Linked DNA regions of Homo sapiens: all the other regions are linked to region 1. Evidence: promoter capture Hi-C in 16 types of primary human blood cells and fetal thymus (Javierre and others, 2016). All regions are on one chromosome and are shown on one strand. Each heading gives the region's core, a stretch centred on a gene start or on the middle of the fragment in contact. The rest is flanking DNA. Distances are from core to core; before and after follow the strand shown.

Region 1 (4,514 bases), core at 726-3,225:
CAGAATCAATTGTAGTAGCGCTACGGTCAGGAGAGCAGTTGTTCAAAGTGTCAGGACATGGGAAAAAGGCCAGAGAATGATGCAATATTACACTGGCAAGTGATGTCATAGCATGATTTCCCAAGCGATTTACATAAATGCAAGTTCTCAAGAAGCCCTGACAAATGCCAGCCAGTGAAAATGCAGTGTGAAGAACCAATGGCAAGCAGGGGAGGGGACCACACAGGAAACGCAGATTTCCTTGCCCACCACTGTGACAAGCTTCACAGATTTCTCGGAAGCCTAAGAAAACCCCTACTGCCCCTCTAATCCAGTGACTTCCCTCAGGCACATAGGCTCCAAAGAGCTTTGATTTTCTTCCTTATCTTTCTATTTACTCCCAGTGATATCCAAGCATTGCCTACTGGTGCTGAGAGTGACTTCTGGTGTGGTGAAAGCAAGTTTAATAGTGTGATAGGCTACAAAAGGGCTTTATATTTTTAAATTGCTCTTTCTTCTTCATTATAAGTTATAACTACTCCCTAATTTTTAGAACTAGAAATGACGAACTGCAATTCTTGGAGAATCAGTCTTTTGTAAATGTCATGGAAATACCTTTTTAGGGGTTTGGGAATGATTTAGGAATGAAGACAGGTGGATACAAAATACCAAGACTTCAGTTTTGTTGTGATCCAAACTAATAAAACATGTATCAATAAGGATTTTTTCTTAAAATGTGTGCATAGGGTGTGGGTGGGAGTAGGGGTTTACATATGTTACCCTGTTACTGATTGGCAGTGGAAGTTCATGACAATATCTAGTTAGAGCAAACTCAGGAGAAACTGATAAGTCTATGTTGAGAAATAATGAAATAGCTCAGAATGTGCCAGACCGGGTCAGGATCTCTCTCTCTCTCTCTCTCTCTCTCTCTCTCTCTCTCTCTCTCTCTCTCTCTCTCTCTCCCCCCTCACTTCTTTCCTCTTGTCCCTTCTCCTCCCTTCCCTCCCCCTCCCTTCGAAATCCAATTTAAGCAGGGTTAAAGACCCCATCTCAAGCCAGAGATCCAAGCAGTTGACAATATGCCTAGGGATTTTGGATTTGAAGACTTTTCTAAACTGCAGAAGCTGCCTAGAGTGTGACAAAAATCTCATCTCATGAAGCTTATACTAAAAACAATCAACAAGACCCAACCCCTTTAACCCACATGGCGTCAGTCTTGCTGTTAACAGAGTCTGGGCACCTGCACATTCTCAGCAATAATTTGAACTTCTCTTCTTTCCTTATCACCATTTCCATCTCCTCCAAACACCCACCAGAATATCAGAACTGGATTATTCAGAGCTATTGAGAGGAAATTGTAAATACCTTCTAGGCAGCAGGTCCTCCACAGCCCCGAATGGGTCATTACTTCTTCATTCTTCCTGCTGGTTTCATTATCACTTGTAGATTTAGTCCTGCACACACCTCTGGAATATAACCAGTAGTCCGTGCCCACTGCAATGGTCATTAAACTAAAAGCGGCAAAGGCTCCTACAGTGGTGATCAACATCTGGATACCTCTGTCACACATCCTCATAATTCTTCATGGTACTCTGGACGGCTGGGGGTTGGAGGGGGAGAGTCAGTGCCGGAGGGGAAAATCACTCTGCAGCCGGGTAACCTAGTACAGGCTCTTCCAAAAATTCAGGTCTCCTTTTGTCAGCATCCACAGGGACTTTGGGAAAGCTGGGATTTCCTTTCTGGAGCTCTCTCCAGTTCCCTGGGTCGCCTATGGCCCTCGGAAGGGTGCAGGCTCCGGGGGGTTGGTCCGCATCACTGCTGCCTTCTGAGGGTCCCTGGGTTCCTTTCATTCCTCAGGAGCGTGGTAAAGACGAGGGTCCGTGCAGGGCATGGCTCCGGAGCCTGGAGCTGCCAGCTCGGTTTGAGATGCGCCTGGCTTCTCACAGCCCCGGGAGACTCAAGGCAAAGAAACCCAGAGAGGTCTCTGTGTGAGTGTGTGTGTGTGTGTGTGTGCGTGCGTGCGTGTGTGTGCGAGCGCGTGTGCTGGGGGTGAGGGCGGATGGCAAAAAATAGCACTGCTGGGAGGCGAGCCGCTGAGAAGAGTGTTCACTGCTTCCACAGCCTCGCAGGAAAGCTCTCCGCCTGCTCCCGACACCCCCGCTCAAACTGGAGAAAAGACAGAGTCCTGGGGCGGGGGCCGGCTGGTTTCCCTGGGGGCGCCAAGGTCCGTGGTGCTGAAGGGACAGCTCCCCGCCTGTTGCCCCGCCTCCGTCGTCTTAACGCCTAGGCTTTAAGGTCCGTGGTGCCGAAGGGACAGCTCCCTCATGCAGCTGCACACCGCCGCCCGGGCTAGAAACCCGGGGTGCTAAAGGGTCTTTCTTCCCTCACCCCGCCCTTCCCCCGTTCCTTCCCGGGTCAGCCAGCCGGCTCGGCTCTGCCCAGTCAAGCCCACTCTCCGCGCAAAGTTTCTGGAGCCGAGGACAGTCAGCGCCCTGGCTCCTGGGCGCTGCAGCACGACCCGGTTCCTCCGCTCTAGGAAGGGTTAAGGAAAGGGGAAGGGGAGCGAAGCCCGTAGCGCACTCTGGCGCTCCCTCAGCACCCACCCAACGCGGCATTCTTCAATCCTCCCTTTCACCCCATGAGCCAGGCAAGTTTGCCTTTTGCTGCGGGCACCACTGGAGCCCATTGGGGAAAAAGAAGACCCGAAAGACCGAGTCTTCTTAAAGGCACCGGCAGCTCTGGAGACGGCTCTATGGCTCGCTTAGGCGGGCAAAAAGTGTTGTCACAATCACATCTGTGTAGAGTCTGTCTCAATTTGGTTCCCCAGCAAACAAACCAATATGTCTACCCTCCTTTCTCTGGAGCTCTGGTTTACACCGAAGACAACCCGCTCAGATCAGACCCGGAACTGTTCATATATACATGATCATGTATTCCTAAAAGATGGAAGAAGCTAAATATACATAGACTCTGTCATACACATATTAGGGACCTTGGGCAAAAGACTATAAGATTTTGGCCTTTGAATATGCCTTTTATACATTTTAACATATCTACATCGAAGGGGGTGATGGATTCATGGTGGGAGAGTCACTGAAAATGTCAGATTTTGTTCAAAGGTCTCTGAGATATCATTTGTTAACATTGTTATCTAAGTGAGACCATGAAGCAGGTGAAGTTAGGTCTGCTTTGCTTGTTAGTCCAAAGGGCAAATGGCATTGCACACCTGAAAGCTCTCTTCCTTGGAAATAGCCAGTATTGCAAAGGACCAGCATTTAACCAGCTTTTTATTACTATGTATTCCGGCATATGCATGGGCACACACCGAGTTGACTAGAAACAGCCCACAGAAATGCCCTTATTATTTTTTTTCTTATGGCATCCTGGGACTGATATCCAGAGGTCAGATAGTTGGAAATGAGGTTGCTTGGGTTGTTTCCACAGTTCCTGAGATGTGTCCGCAACCAACTGTCATGTTTGAATGTTATTTAGCTGGACAGAAATATAACGGGAGGTAATCGCAGACAAACATACTCCCCTGGTGCCATCTCTGGCTGCCTGGGAACTTCTATTCAGGTGACTGGGTAGCAGGAATATATTGAAGGGTTCGCAAATGCAGCTCACAACTTCTTGGTGACTTTGCTACTTTCATTTTGGTGTTAAGACTGAAGACTTTATTCTTGGTGTTAGATAAATACTCATGTGCAGGAGGAAGTTTGAATATATAGCTGTGGAGTGATTGTGTTTGAATGCTCACCTGTGCTATGTTCAGTTTAGTTATAAATTCTGAATGCCTGTGAATCCGTCATAGAAGTAAAGCAAGTATGTAAATGTATGTTTGTACCTGCAGACAGTGTTATGGACCATGTGAACATATTTGCTGCAAATGCCTAGCATTTTTGCTATGCATATGCATACATATTTGCACATGTATGTGTATGCATGCACGTGTGTAGGTATAGTATAGATTTGAATATGTAGGTGTGTATACCTATGAGCATTTAGTTGCATATGCATGTGTCGTGGTTCAAAAACACTGATTTATGGACAGGAGGTAGAAATACTGAAATCTTGCCACATAATCCACAATGGAATGGATAAACTTGGGGCCAGCACCACAGCCGTACTCCAGAAGAATGACAGAAGATAGTAGGGAGAGGATACACGAGGGCCCCTACAAGTTTCTTAGTGTCATTTTCTTTCCTGAAATGAAAATTTGCATCTTAATAAAAATATCCTGCCTTGATTGTTATTACCTTTCTTTTTTAAGGGAAAGCCATATGTAACATGGAGGTGAGGTTGGTATTTCTTGGGAGGGATTAATTCAGTTAGCAAAAATTTCTCTCCCCACTCTCAGAAAGGTAAATAAGATGAAATAATTACTAATGATCAAAGCAGTCATTTCAGGATCTGTTTGATTCTTCTCTTGCTTGGATAGAAGTGAGAAAGGTCTTCTTTCAAAGAAGGACCATGTTGATGAAAGGTGAGTGAGCTTCGGGCTAAGGGACAGTATGCCCCAATCTCTCCATTTACCA
Region 2 (4,514 bases), core at 894-3,393, 580 kb after region 1:
ACCTCGAAACTGTGCCCTTTCTTGCTCAGCACCTCGGGAGCTATGTAATTAGGAGTCCCACACAGGGTCTTCTTCCTCTCCCCGTCATATTCGACTTTGGTTGCCAGTCCAAAATCCCCTGGGACAGAGGGAGGAAGAGTTGGTACTTAGATGCCAGCCTCTGACATCTGTCAATGCAGAAGGCTAGTTAAGGTTTGACCATCCAGAACCAGGGCCATCTGATCCCACAAGCCTCTGCTCCTTGTATGTAGCAAGGCTTGCCCAGGAATCTTCCTCCCATGCTGACACCAGGGAGGTGCCTCCAGTGACACTTCTCACCCCTCCTTTTAGAAAGGGGCTATGCTTTGAAACAGGAACTGACAGGGATAGTAAAACTCCAATGCCTTCAAGGATCAAGCAAGTTAACCTCCAAGACTTGGCAAGTCTGTGAAGAATAGGGAGGAGTAGAGACTGTGGCAAAGAAGTCTGAAGGGGACAGCTGTTTTCCAGCCCAGCAAAGGGCTGCCCTAAGAAAATGCTGTCCTCGTATTACTGAAGCTTTCACCTGTTTAAAAGGAGTTCTGAATCAAACTTTTTGTTCAATCAAACCTTCCAATTTAAAAAATAAAAACAAATTCAAATTCTTTGTAAAAAAAAAATATTGCATTGGGGCACAAAAAAATAATGCATCTGTAGGCAAGATACTGACTTGTGGGTTGTCTCCTTCCTTTCTCCCAGCCTCCTCCAAATTCCAGCCTCTTGTAGTGATGTCAAGCACCCCTGCAGGCTCAGCAACTCACCTATTTTCACCTCCAGATCTTCATTCAGGAAAAGGTTGCCCAGCTTGAGGTCTCGATGAATAACTCGGTTTCGGTGCAGGTACTGGCAGCCAAGCACAATTTGCCGTAGGTAGTATCGGGCCTCAGGCTCAGTCAGGGCTTTCCTCCTCTTGTGCAGCTCCAGGAGAGACTGTGGGTGGGAAGGAGAGGGCAGGAGGGATGGGGAGGTGGATTGAGGCCGGTGGGGAAGGGAGAGGGTTACCAGGCAAAGGAAGCACAGGACTGGACTCTGGACTCCCAAGGGATGAAAGAGGGGTCTTGGTGGGTTTCTCTCCTTCCCTATGCCCCCACCCCATTCCTTCTCCAGCACAGCGGCATCTGGACCCTGCCTTAACACTGTCCACAACCATTCGCAGCACCCCTTCTCCTACTAGCTTCCCCCCTTACCTGGGGGTCCTCTCTCAGCCCCACTCCGGAAGCTCCGAGTCCCCAGCACCAGATCCCTTTCCTGACTCGTATCTCCCCCGGAAGGCCCGAAGTCTGGCTCCAACTACCCCCCCACTGACCCAGCTCCACCCCAGAAGCTCCCAGGGCGCGGCATCACTAACCTGGGACTCCTCCCTGGGTACTCCAGGGCCCTAGCGTCCATTACCAGCACCCCTCCCCCCAGCACCTCGCGTCCAGAAGCTGACTTCCCTATCAGCAACATGACTCAGACTCCACTTCACTGGAACCCCCTCCTCTAGCAGCTCCCAGAGCCAAGAAGCCCTTACCAAAGACACTTTCCATACGTAAGCGGGAGGCTCCCAGCACCCTTCTCTAGCAGCTCCAAGTCCCAGGCTCTCCCTTGCTGGGTACTCTTTCCAGCAGCTCCAGGTCTGGGCGCTCCAACTGCCCCGCAGGCAGTTCCAGTTCCCCAGCAGCGACACTCACCCTCCGGCGGCAGAGCTCCAACACCACGAACACGAAGTCGTTGTCCTCGAAAAAGCCGTGGAATCCTACGACGTGCTGGTGGGCGAGGCTGCGGTGAATGGATATTTCCATGGACATCTTCTCCCTCTGGTGCGGCTTGAGCAGCAGAGACTTAGGCACAATCTTGCCCGCGAACACCTCCTTGGTGTCCGCGTCCGAGATCTCGAAGCACTTGGCAAAGCCGCCCTTGCCCAAAAAGCGGCCCCGCACATAGCGCCGCCGGCTGCGTGGGTCCACTAGGACCTCCGGGATCTCTTTCGCCGGTGGAGCCGCCGCCGGAGCTCCGGGAGCTGCAACTCCGGGGACCCCGGCTTTCCCAGGGTCGGCCGGTGCCCGTGCCAGCTTCCCTGCAGTCACTGCAGCACTCATGCTCCCGAAGCTGCGCTGCAGACCTCGATCCGAGCAGAGCCTCCGCACCGCTCCGCTCCTCCCCGAATTCAAACGCGGCGCTGGGAACGTTACAAAAGCCTGCGCGCCACTGATTGGCCGCGGGGATTTAAAATCCAAACCCGCCCGCCGCGCGGCACCATGGGAGCGCCCTGCGCAGCAGCAGCCTTTAAACCCGGACCCAGCCGGGGAAAACCTGATTGACACGGACGCCCGAACACGTGGGATAGCCTGGGAAACCAAACCCGGCGTGGATGCGGAGACCCAGCCCCGAGAGAGGAGGAATTCCTTCGGGGTTTCTCCCTTTCTCGGGCGTCCGGGAAAGCTCCTGCGGTTCACTTGCGCCTCCTCCAGGAAGCTTTTACTTAAATCTTCCTCTACCTCGGGGCCAGGGAACAGTAGCATCGCCATCACCTGAGAGCTTGTTAGAACCGCAAAGGCAAACGTTCAGGCCCTACCCCAGACCTCCCGAGTCAGTGTCCGCCTCTCAACAAGACTGCTCAGGTGATTCCTACACATCCTGAAGTTGGAGAAGCACAGTACCAGAGCCCCCCATGATGCAACGAAGCTGTCTGGCCTCCTCGCTACTGAATTTCCCAGGGCCTAAAATAGTGGACACTCAGTTTCTTGGTCAGAGGGAGGGAAGGTTGGAAGAATGCCTAGCAAACTGGCAGGTCATAGCCAAATGTGTCTTGCGGGGTTTTGTTTGGCCTCCCCCCACGCCTTTTTTTTGTGTGTGTGACGGAATCTTGCTCTGTCGCCCAGGCTGGAGTGCAGTGGCACGATCTCAGCTCACTGCAACCTCTGCTTCCCGGGTTCAAGCAATCCTCCCGCCTCGGCCTCCCTAGCAGCTGGAATTACAAGCATGCACCACCATGCCCGGCTAATTTTTGTAATTTTAGTAGAGAAGAGGTTTCACCATGTTGGCCAGGCTGGTCTTGAACTCCTGACCTCAAGTGATCTGCCCCTCGGCCTCCCAAATGCTGGGATTACAGGCGTGAGCCACCGCGCCCCGCCATTGTAAAACATTTACAGCATTTAAAAGAGGAGCTCATAAAAGTTGGGATTTGTGGCCTTTCCTGAAAAAAATCAGCTCTAGCTACTTACTCTGTGCCTACATGCTTTCAGTTTGCCACAGTTTACAGCTACACCCGTTTGTTCTGTAGGTACTTGAGTGGCAACCCTGGAACAGTAAAATACCCACGTTAAAAGCTCTTTCTCTGTGCCTCCTTAGCACCCTCTGATCCTTCATAGAGCCCAGCAAAAATCAACCATACTATAAGCATCCTTCACCTGCCTTGCAGCTAAGCTGAAGGACAATGAGGACAATGATGCCGTCCTTTCTACCCCATGTCCCAAGCTCCCAGAGCAGTGCTTGGTAAAAAAAAAAGGGTACTTACTAAAATGTTGGCTGAATAAAAGGAAGACTTTGAAAAATTAAGTTATTTTGTACCCCTATAGTGTGAATTCTTTTTATTGAAATTTAATACACTTACAGAAAAAAATGTACATATTATAATTGTTCATAGAGCTCAGTGAATTTTCACAAACTGAACAAATCTGTAAACCACACCCAGATTGAGAAAGGGAACATGACAAACACCCTGCAAGTCTCCCTTGTGCCCTGTGCTGGGGGGTGCCAACACCACCACCTCCTAGTCTGATGATGTACTAGGAGATTCACAGACTCAGCCTGTAGTCATACTCATGGCTATGTTTTACTACAGCGAAAGGCTAGGAAGCAAAATCAGCAAAGGAAAAAAGCGCATGGACAAAGTCCAGGGAAACCAGGTGTAAGCCTCCCACAGTCCTCTCCCAGCAGAGTCACATAGGACACAATTCCTCCAGCAATCAGTTGTGACAACCCATGTGCAATGTTGTATACAAGGGAAGCTCATTACAGACTCAGTGTTCAGGGTTCTCATTGGGAGCTGCTCACCTCATCCTCTGCCTAACACATATGAAAATCTGACTCCCAGAAGGAAAGCAGATGTTGGGCATAACCCACATTGTTTGTACGAACAGTTTAGGCACAGTGAGCCACTCTTATCATTTAGGGAGTAATGAGAACCCTCCTGAAATCCAAGCTTTCAGATGCCAGCCAAGGGCCAGCCTTGCAAACAGGCCTGCTTTCTCATCTCTTTTCACACAGTCCATCTCCTTATTGAGGCTTCTTTACAGCAAAATTATTATTAGTAGGACCACATGCAAAAGGGTGAGACCAACCTCAAATATGGACCTCAGTTCTTCCTGGTAGGGGTCCTGGACTTAACCAGCTAAAATAAATCCCATTAACCATAAAGTCTATCTTAGGAAGCCAGGTGGCTTCCTCCTTAATTCCTTTTTGTTGTTGTTGTTGAGATGGAGTCTTGCTCTGTCACCCAGGCTGGAGTGCAG
Region 3 (4,514 bases), core at 711-3,210, 550 kb after region 1:
CAAGTGGCCCCAACCGGGTAACCCTGGATGACTTCCCACATCCAGAGTGACCCCAAACAGCCCCTAAGCAATCTCTGTGTGTCCTAACTGACCCCTATATATAACCCCTGAAAGCTAACCCTAAGTAGCCTCTTCCATAGACCGACTCCCCAGGTGACCCCGACCACTCCCCACCATTTTTTGTGAGATGGGGTCTCACTCTGTCACCCAGGCTGGAGTGCAGTACTGTGATCACAGCTTACCGTAGCCTCCAACTCCTGGGCTGAAGTGATCCCCTATCCTCAGCCTCCTGAATAGCTGGGACTGCAGATGTGTACCACCAAGCCTGGCTCATCTTTTAATTTTTGTGTAGAGATGGGGTCTTGCTATGTTGCCCAGGCTGGTCTCAAACTCCTGGGCTTAAGTAATCCTCCTGTCTTGGCTTCCCAAAGTGCTGGGATTACGAGCATAAGCCACCACACCTGGCCCACCCCCTTGATATTATGACTGATACCCAACTGCCTGAGTGACCTTACAGGTGCCCCAAGGCCCCCTCAAGCCCTGATTCCATCATTCTGCATGAGACCCTACACAGGTCACCTCAGCAGAGGTGAGGTCACCTACTCGCCCCAACTGACCCCTCTCACACTGTAAGTGACTCCCAAGTGACCCAAATGCCTCCAGGCCACCCTGATTGATCCATCCCAGGTGACCATATGTTGACCATGAGCAATACCCCACCATCCTAAGTGACCCAAACTGACTCCCACACATCTGAGTCACCTTTGAATGACCCTGACTGATGGCCTCGTTTTCAAAGTGACTCCATGAACTCCAACAAACATTCTCATGTCCAGATAACCCTCCATGTGATCTCCACACACCAGACTGACCCCTCACCCAGAGGGCACACCCTTGGACCCTCTTAGGAGAGCTTCCAACCACATCTCCCCAGCCACCTTTCTCGGCAGACATGAGCCACCTGGCGTCCTGCGGGATGGGCCTGCTGCTCACTGTGGACCCAGGAAGCGGGACGGTGCTGTGGACACAGGACCTGGGCGTGCCTGTGATGGGCGTCTACACCTGGCACCAGGACGGCCTGCGCCAGCTGCCGCATCTCACGCTGGCTCGAGACACTCTGCATTTCCTCGCCCTCCGCTGGGGCCACATCCGACTGCCTGCCTCAGGCCCCCGGGACACAGCCACCCTCTTCTCTACCTTGGACACCCAGCTGCTGTAGGTGTTCGTGCCTGGGGCCCAGGGAGGGAGCCATCTGGGAGTGTCGCAACCTGGGTCTGATGGCCAGGCGAGATGTTCAGCTGTGACACACCAGTACCGCTGAACCAGGGGTCAAAACATTTCAAATTGGTTACTTACCCAACTGGTTGGTAAATAACCAGTGTCCTCTGCTGCCCTCCAAGTGTCCCCGGGACCCCCTGGGTAGCCCCCACTGTTCAGCAACTCATACGGTAAGATCTGGCCTAGGAGGGTGTATTAGTCTGTTTCATGCTGCTGATAAAGACATACCCAAGACTCGGCAATTTACAAAAGAAAGAGGTTTAATTGGACTTTCAGTTCCACGTGGCTGGGGAAGCCTCACAATCATGGCAGAAAGCAAGCAGGAACAAGTCACATCTTACGTGGATGGCGGCAGGCAAAGAGAGAAGCTTGTGCAGGGAAACTCCCCCTTATAAAACCATCAGATCTTGTGAGACTTATTCACTATCACAAGAACAGCATGGGAAAGACCTCATGATTCAATTACCTCCCACCGGGTCCCTACCACAACCCATGGAAATTCAAGATGAGATTTTGGTGGGGACACAGCCAAACCATATCAGAGGGGGACTCCAGGTCTTAACCTGTTCTGGTTGGTAGGTGCTGTGCCTTATGGATTGTTAAATACTTTAAATAACAACCTTATTTAACTTACCTTATTTAACAACTTATTTAAGGTATTATTGCATCTAATACCTTAGTGTCCCCATCTTGATAAACCAGTAGACAGCTTGGGAAAATCAGGGATCATCTATTCATTCAATTCATTCTGCAAATATTAATTGAGCACTTACTGTGTGCCAGTCTCACTAGAGTCTGGGAGTACAATAGCAAATAACCCAGCCATTGTTCCTGCCTCAGGAACCCGAGTCTAATGGGAGAGACAGATATGTGAAGAGACTATTGCAACCTGATATGATAAAGGATGAGATGAAAGTAGTATAAGATGCCATGGGAATGTATAGGAAGAGTACCCACATCAAGACTGGGGACAGGAGGCAGTCATGGAAAGCTTCCTAGAGGAAGGAACATCTAAACTGAAACCTAAAAAATGAATAGGAAATGAGAGAGATGAGAGAGCATAGAATTCAGGTAACAGGAAAAAATTAAATAAGACTGAAATACAGACCTGAGAAAGGAGTAGAGCCTGAGATTATAAGCTAAGAAGAGATCTTGTAGGATCATTTAAAGGGCTTGGACATTTTCTCCTAAAGTTAAAAAGTCACTGGAGAGTTTTAAGGAAGGAAGTGATTTAATCATATTTTCATTTTAGAAAGAATATCTTAGAATGGTATATGGAAAGAAGTGGACCATTCATGGAATATTGATTTGTTCAGGCAAGAAATGAAGATACTTTATACTAGAGCAGAAACTAGAGAGAGGAAAATAGGTGGAGTGTAAGATATATTAGAAGGAAGAACTAGTAAAAATTTGGTGATTAGGGAGTTTGACGATTGTGAGCAAGGAGTCAAAGATCATGCTCAGGTTTCTAGAAGCACGTGGGTACTGTCATTTTCAGAGGCAGGGAACACTAGAGGAGGTGGGGGAGAAGAAGGAGGAAGAAGTAAAGGACGATGTAATGAGTTTATATTTAGAAAATTGAGCTCTTGAAAGAGGTCTGGGTTAGACATAGATTTGAAATCATGACTATGGAACATGTATCAGCTAGCTTTAGCTGCATAACAAATTGCCCCAAAACAGAGAACTTAAAAAACAACAGTTTATTATTTTTCAAGATTCTGTGGGTCAGCTGGGGTGGGTTGTTTTTCTGCAGTCTGCTCATGGCTTGGTTGAGTCTGGAGAATCTAGGATGGCCTCACTTACCTATCTCATAGTTGATGGACTGTTTGACCTATGGGGGATTAAAGAGATCTCTCACACCCCAGCAGGCTAGCCTGGGTTTTCTCCCACGGTGGTCTCAGGGTCTAAAGAAAAATGCATAAGGAAGCCTGAAGGCACAAGCACTTTTCAAGCCTCTACTTATGTCACATTTGCTGTTGTCTAATTGATTAAAGCAAGTCTCATGGCTAAGCTGAGTCAATGTGAGAGGGAAATATACAAGGGCATGAGTACCTTGATAACTGAAACTACCCATCACCAGCATTCATTCTTCTCTTCTTTTTCTTCTCTCCCACTAGAATGACGCTGTATGTGGGGAAGGATGAAACTGGCTTCTATGTCTCTAAAGCACTGGTCCACACAGGAGTGGCCCTGGTGGTAAGAAGTGGTCTCTGAGTGGGCTGGAAAGAGGATGAACGGGAGAAGAACCTCCCTCACTCATGGCTCTCCATCTTCTGCCATAGCCTCGTGGACTGACCCTGGCCCCCGCAGATGGCCCCACCACAGATGAGGTGACACTCCAAGTCTCAGGAGAGCGAGAGGGCTCACCCAGCACTGCTGTTAGATACCCCTCAGGCAGTGTGGCCCTCCCAAGCCAGTGGCTGCTCATTGGTGAGATCCTCTGGCTCAAATTGGGAGTAGATGAAGATAAAGAACCTGTGAGCCCAGCTTCTGAGCTGGAAAGCTAAGGTCCCCTTCAGCCTGATGACTTTTGCCCCCCACCTTAGGACACCACGAGCTACCCCCAGTCCTGCACACCACCATGCTGAGGGTCCATCCCACCCTGGGGAGTGGAACTGCAGAGACAAGACCTCCAGAGAATACCCAGGCCCCAGCCTTCTTCTTGGAGGTCAGTGCTGGGAGGGGAGAGAGTGGGGGTAGGGAGGCCCCAGCAGATGGGGGGAATAGCCCTTGGATCTTTTCCTCGGGCTGCTAAGAATAACACTCGGGGGTGGGTCAATTGACCTCACACAATTTCCCAGACTTTTTGTTGGGAACAACACAACTTGTTGTTGTTGTTGTTGTTGTTACTGCCAGAAACACGTTAGAAGTGTTAAAAAGTGGCTGGGCAGGTGATTCATGCTTATATTCTCAGCACTTTGGGAGGTCAATGTGGGAGGATGGATGGCTTGAGGTCAGGAGTTTGAGACCAGCCTGGGTAATATAACAAGACCCCATCTCTACAAAAAAATAAAAATAAAAAATTAGTGGGGAATGGTTGTGTGCATCTGTAGTCCCAGCTACTCAGGAGGCTGACGTGGGAGGATTGCTCGAGCCCAAGAGTTTGAGGCTGCAGTGAGCTATGGTCACACCACTGCACTGTATAACACAGTGAGACCCTGTCTCAAAAAAAAAAAAAAAAGACATTGACTATTTAAATCATGAAACATAGGTCACATTTTCTTTATTCTTCTTCA

The links. Contacts are between HindIII fragments. The CHiCAGO score rates a contact against its expected background, and 5 or more counts as called.
Region 2: a contact is called between the fragment with the promoter of PLK1 here and the fragment with the promoter of CACNG3 in region 1, in 9 of 17 cell types (naive CD8 T cells, total B cells, megakaryocytes and 6 more). The highest score is 11.3, in naive CD8 T cells.
Region 3: a contact is called between a fragment that was not itself captured here and the fragment with the promoter of CACNG3 in region 1, in 1 of 17 cell types (total B cells). The highest score is 5.1, in total B cells.

Annotation. Positions count from the first base shown.
Region 1 is chr16:24,253,796-24,258,309 of GRCh38, reverse strand. It overlaps CACNG3 (calcium voltage-gated channel auxiliary subunit gamma 3), which reads right to left and starts at 1,975. Exons shown (of 4, transcript NM_006539.4): 1 at 1,345-1,975. The coding sequence starts at 1,555. RefSeq lists an enhancer at 1,500-2,227. The HindIII fragment of the contact is 7,529 bases long and covers 1,142-4,514 here.
Region 2 is chr16:23,676,518-23,681,031 of GRCh38, reverse strand. It overlaps PLK1 (polo like kinase 1), which reads right to left and starts at 2,143. Exons shown (of 10, transcript NM_005030.6): 1 at 1,692-2,143; 2 at 780-948; 3 at 1-118. The coding sequence starts at 2,099. DCTN5 (dynactin subunit 5) reads right to left here. Exons shown (of 6, transcript NM_032486.4): 6 at 3,560-4,514. The HindIII fragment of the contact is 1,938 bases long and covers 540-2,477 here.
Region 3 is chr16:23,701,584-23,706,097 of GRCh38, reverse strand. It overlaps ERN2 (endoplasmic reticulum to nucleus signaling 2), which reads left to right. Exons shown (of 22, transcript NM_033266.4): 8 at 951-1,215; 9 at 3,396-3,474; 10 at 3,561-3,708; 11 at 3,825-3,946. Among named protein-coding and RNA genes, the nearest start is that of ERN2, 9.4 kb to the left of the region's middle. RefSeq lists an enhancer at 616-1,116. The HindIII fragment of the contact is 623 bases long and covers 1,649-2,271 here.